Linked DNA regions of Homo sapiens: region 1 is linked to region 2. The links are contacts of gene promoters, found by promoter capture Hi-C in blood cells and fetal thymus (Javierre and others, 2016). All regions are on one chromosome and are shown on one strand. The core of a region is centred on a gene start or on the middle of the fragment in contact, and the rest is flanking DNA. Distances in the headings are between cores, read along the strand shown. Region 1 overlaps DHRS1 (dehydrogenase/reductase 1). Region 2 holds the start of ADCY4 (adenylate cyclase 4).

Region 1 (2,700 bases), core at 121-2,620, 42 kb before region 2:
GGATCCCTGGAGAGCTCTTTCTCTTGGGCCTTGGACTTTTTCCACACTTCCCAGGAGCCTGCTCCTAAGGCTCTCAGACCTCAAACTGGGAATGCTGACCCCTTGGGCCTCAAAAAGCAGAGAAAAGAATGACATGTTCCTCAACCAACTCCCGAGCCAGATCTGGGCACTGGATGCTACCGCACTACACATCCTCCATGCCCTTTCTTATTACCAGCTGCCCCCAAACTTCACCTGTTGCCAAAGCCACCACACATTTGCCACTCAATTCTGTGGTTTCCGCAGATGAGAAGGCTGATTTGAACTGAAACACAGGGGCAGAGAAGTGAAGGGTTAATTTCCAAGAGCACTGCCCAGGTCTCCTCCCCATTTCAACTTCTGTTCCAGGAGAAAAAGACCAAAGACCAAAGAGGCCAAAGACCTCAAGCAGGGCCTGTAGGACCCAAAGTATTGGCAGGTGCCAGAGCCACTCCTCCCCACATCCAGGTGAGCCCTGTGCCCTGGCACCAGGATCTGCTGTCTTTGCTAAGTGGAAGGATCTGGTAGTGCCAAATAGTGTTTGGACCTTCTAAGCTAGCTGGTGTGGGGGTCAAGTGCATGGTCTTTGGAGCTAGACAGCCTTTCCACTTAGGACATATGTGACCTTCAACAAGTTTCTAAACCTCTCTGGGTTTCAGTTTTGCCATCTGTAGAATGGAGCTGGTATCTCCCTTACAGGATTAAAGGAAATAATGTGTGTCCCATGCTCAGCCCTGCACCTGCCACAGTAAGCACCTGGTGAGTGGGAGTATCTGATCTTGTTATTGAGGATGCAGAGGCCGACTCCCCTGTTCTCTGCTTCCTTCGCCCTCCCCTTGCCAACCTGCTTCAACACAGGATCCTGCAGGACCTCCTCCTTTGCCATATGCTCCTTCAGCAGTTCTGTCTGCACAATCCCCGGCCACAGAGACACACAGCTGACCCCATGGCGCCGCAGCTCGTGGGCACAGTCAGCAGCCAGCTTGTCACACTGTGGAGAGGCGGAAGGCAGGGTAAGAGCCACCTAGCCATGTCACTTTCCTGCCCTGCCCTCTCTGCTTCTACTGTGAATGCTCCACCCACCCTGTCCTTCCCAGGAGCCCCAAGGTCTCAGCTGCCCACGCTCCCCAGTGTGATGCCTACTCTAGCCAACCAAGAGGAGCACAAGCAAAGGAACTGTCCATGGATGAGGCAGAGGAGGAGCTGAGAGGAGCCAGCCTTACCATTCTGACCACTGGGGATTGTACCTCCTGAGCTATAGGTAACATCACTGTCTTTTACCTCCTCAGCTCCTATGCCACTGGGTCCTCACCGCAGCTTTGCCCACACCATAGGGGACATTGAACATATACTGCAGGCTTCCTGGGGAGGAGATGACCACGATGAGCCCCTGGCCAGCTGGTACCATCAGCCGTGCCCCATACACTGAGCAAAAGTAGTGGCCTCTAGAAGGTGGGGCAAGGGAAGAAGGAATGAACCGTGTTAGTGCTGGCCTGGGTGCCACAGCCTCTGGCGGCTTCCCCTGCCTTCTGGTGGTTGTTGTCCACTAGGAAGGCTACACAGGGTGGGTTAGCGACCTGAGGAATTAGGGGCTTGAGGCCATATTCTGAGAGGAAAACTGGTCAAAATAACCACTGACAGATGAGAAACAGCAATCTTTGGAAGAAGAAATGGAACGCAAGAGCCCTGTCACAATAACAATTACAAACAAAATTGTTCAGGGGGAGAAAACTTAAGAAATGTATAGTGTCTACATAGAAAAACTATAAAACCATGACAATAAGTACAGACAAAATCTTTCAAAGCTAAGAACTGACATGTAAATCATCATTTCTATGTAAATCAATCCATAGATTCAGTCAAATTGGATTATAGCTCAATAAGACCTTTTGGAGGAATTGATAAAATAATCTAAAGCTCAATGAGAAGAATAAACGTGAGAACAGCCAGAAAAGCTGGGCACGGTGGCTCACGCCTGCAATCCCAGCACTTTGGGAGGCGAGGGGGGCAGATCACTTGAGCTCAGGAGTTTGAGACCAGCCTGGCCAACGTGGTGAAAGCCCATCTGTACTAAAAATACAAAAATTAGCCAGGTGTGGTGGTACGTGCCTATAGTCCCAGCTACTCGGGAGCCTGAGGCAGGAGGATCTCTTGAGCCCAGGAGGCGGAGGTTGCAGTAAGCTGAGATTGTGCCACTGCACTCTAGCCTGGCTGACAGAGTGAGATTGTCTCAAAAATAAATAAATAAATAAAAAGAAAGAGAACAGCCAGGAAAATTCCGAAAAAAGGACTAAAAAGACTAATGTCTTGTGGGTGAGGGGGATTGCTTTCCCTACCCCTGCTGTCACCCATATTAAAATGCACAGGGGCCAGGCATGGTGGCTTATGCCTGTAATCCCAGCATTTTGGGAGGCTGAGATGGGAGAATTGCTTGAGGTCAGGAGTTTGAGACCAGCCTGGCCAACACAGCAAGACCCCGTCTCTAAAAAATAAAATAAAATAAATTAAAATGTACAAGACATAATAGTTAAAAGAATGCAATACAGGTGTTAACAGTAGACTGATAAGTCAATGAAACAAAACAGAGAATAATTAGATACAAGTGTATGTGAGAACGCAATGTATTACGAAAGGAACCTGTCAAATCAGTGGGGGAAAGTTGGATCATTTGGGACAACCGAC
Region 2 (2,700 bases), core at 69-2,568:
GGCAGCTTGAAGGGCGGCGCGAGGCAGCGCTCGAGCAGCAGGGGGCGCCAGGACCCGCGGCGTCCCGCACCTCCCTGGCCACCAGGGCTGCGATCTCGCCACCTGCCTCAACTCCAAGCAGAAGCTGCACAGCCGTCCCAGCATTTTGTCCCCACCTCTTCCCGGATTTAGGCGTGGACCAGCAAGGATTGGCCGCGCCCGGTGATTTTCCCACCTTGCCTCCAAGCAGTGAAAAGAAAACCAGGGGCAGGCCATTTCTAGAATTGGATTGAAGACCTTCTTCCTCCCCAAACAGAAACTGGACATGGGTTTACTTTGGGACTCAGTGAGAGCCCGGTGGAGGGTGCCTTCTGGGAGTCTGTGGGTACAACTGCTCTACATCCCCTAAGAGGGAGAGAAAGGCAGGAAATGAATTCCCCAGGGGCCTCCTAGAATTTCCCCTTTGGAAAACTGGAAAATCCGGTGATGGATTTATTGTAGAACCCGTAGACCACGGATGTTCATAAAGTCTGTCAGAACCCGGACAGAAACGAGAAGCATCCAGGACTCAGCTTTCTCCCTGAGCAGACCCAGAAGGGTAGAGTGACTTGCCCAGGGTCACTGCAGTTCCTAGCCAGGCTCAATGGTCCTTTCTTTCTCTGCTCCCAGCAACGAAAACACATCGAAAAGAAGACCCCACAAACCCCAACCCCGAAAATGCTCCCCAGGTAGAGACCCTCCCGCAGCAGAGGCTCGGCTCACCCTGCCGCTGGCCCAGGCCACTGCGAGCAGCGCCGCGAGCGCACAGAGCACGATCCCCAGCAGCAGCAGCAGCAGCGGGTACTGCTGGCTCAGGCTGTAGTAGGTCTCGTAGAAGAGGTCTTCGCTGGGGGGCGGCCGGGGGCTGAAGAGGCGGGCCATGATCTCCCCAGCCCCGAGCCCCGGGGCTGGCTAGGGCCGGGCGCCGGGTTACCTCCTTCGGCCCGGCGGGCCCCACCTGAGCTTTTCTCACCCGCTCAAAGCCGCTACCACCCCGCGCCCCCAACCTCGTGGCAATCCCGTCTCCTTTTTCAGGCCCTCCCTGCGGCCTCCCAGCCCGCTCCCAGCTGGCGATGAGGGGATCCCTCAGTCCTTTCCTCCTCCTCCCTCAAACCCGGATTGTAGAGGTGCCCTAGAAAAGCCTCATCGCCAGGAGGGCAGGATTTGGGGTTGGTGCGAGGGAGCCCCGGGTTCCCCTGATCCCCGAACTCACTGCCCGCGGCGCTGGCGCAGCGGAGTGGGCTAGGTCCGGGGAGGGAGCCGGGGACCTGATGGCGGAGTCACGCTCGCCGCTGCGCTCTGGCTCAGAGTCCCGGGCGACAGGCGCTTCCCTCCCGGCGCCGCGGCCCCCTCCCACTTCCCCGACGGGACAGCCCGGCCCCTTCCTGTGCCAAAGCCGGACTCCCCTGGTCTCCTCCCGCACTTGGTTTTGTCTCTCCTAACACCATCGCCTCCCCGCTTCAGCCCCTTCAGGGAAGGGCAATGTGGACCCTGGGAGAGATGCGAAGGGGTGGGCTGGGGTGGACCCAATGGGATGTGTCCAAATGGAGGTGAACGTTTGGTAGTGGGGAGACCGAGGGCGGGGGGCTGAAGCCTGGCGAGAATGTAGGGAAGAATGTGGGTCCTGGTGGGGATCTAGGTCAGAGTTGGGGGCGCTCATTCTCTTGACCTCTCCGCTTGGCTGGCAACCACTACCACCGGGTTTGAACTGTTCATGCTCCGTGGGAGGGGTTGCGCCTGTGTATAGCTTTAGGAGCCATAGCTTTCCACTCCCGAACAGCAACTGGGAATCAAAAGGGAAGCAATGTCCAGGAAGCAACCTGAGTGTGTGGTGGAGGCAGGTATGTGGCGTCATGATCTCTAAGAGCCTGGGGGCACCGTGCGGGGCCAGGTCTGTGATCTTTCACATCAACTCATCCCTCGCCAGAGCCCTGCAAGTGAGTCTTGAGAGCCCGGAAGAAAAGGGACCACAGCCTCTATCCCCAGAGTTTAGGGTTAGGGTGGGGTCGCCATCCTAGGCTTTAGAGGAAGCACTGCCCTGAGATTAGAGAGTGGTCTGGGGAACCAGGCCTCTAGGATTCCTTCCTGTTGTAGCCGGCTGTGCCCTGACCTTGTGTGCCAGGCCATTGCCCACTCCCAGCCCCCAGCATCCCCACTTCCTGCCATAGCAGAGCTGTGGTGCCTCCCTATCCCTCACTGGCAGCTCCCACCCCCATCCCAGTCCCTCCCTGCCCCTGGCTGAGCTCAGACTGACTAGCATTCCATCATGTTTATTGACTCCTGGGGGACAGGTCACAAAGTCAGTTTGTGGGCAGGCCAGACTGCCCTAGAAGGAAGTCAGGGGCCTCAAGGGGTGGCACTCTTCCTTAACTCGTAACTCTTGGAGGCAAGCTTGGAAGGTGCTTTATTTCCCGCTATGATTATACCAACCCTGTGGCCTGCTCCAGGCTTCAGGATCTTTAGGGCCTTCTTGCGAACCTACTGGTGGGGGGTGCTGCAAGCCCCTCCCCTTGCCCGAAGGTGCCAAGCCCCATGTGGGCAAGGCAGTTGTCTGTTGCATAGTCAAGTAGTTGTTGTCTCCAACTTGCACCCCAGAGCAGTTGTATATGTTAACGAGCGGTCGCCCTTTAAGAGAAATAGTGATGGTGGCAGGAGGGTTTAGCTGTCAGAAAGGCCAAGTTG

What was found. The method cuts DNA at HindIII sites, captures the fragments that hold promoters and counts their contacts. A CHiCAGO score of 5 or more calls a contact.
Region 1: a fragment that was not itself captured here is called in contact with the fragment with the promoter of ADCY4 in region 2 in 1 of 17 cell types (naive CD4 T cells); the score reaches 5.2 in naive CD4 T cells.

The regions. Positions count from the first base shown.
Region 1 is chr14:24,291,322-24,294,021 of GRCh38, forward strand. It overlaps DHRS1 (dehydrogenase/reductase 1), which reads right to left. Exons shown (of 9, transcript NM_001136050.3): 5 at 1,331-1,463; 6 at 863-1,009; 7 at 235-304. It also overlaps a transcript of NOP9 not described here. Among named protein-coding and RNA genes, the nearest start is that of DHRS1, 7.1 kb to the right of the region's middle. The HindIII fragment of the contact is 4,352 bases long and covers 1-2,700 here.
Region 2 is chr14:24,333,753-24,336,452 of GRCh38, forward strand. It overlaps ADCY4 (adenylate cyclase 4), which reads right to left and starts at 1,319. Exons shown (of 25, transcript NM_001198568.2): 1 at 742-1,319. The coding sequence starts at 900. RIPK3 (receptor interacting serine/threonine kinase 3) reads right to left here. Exons shown (of 10, transcript NM_006871.4): 10 at 2,273-2,643. The coding sequence ends at 2,423. RefSeq lists silencers at 1-55, 716-875, 946-1,025. The HindIII fragment of the contact is 4,552 bases long and covers 1-2,407 here.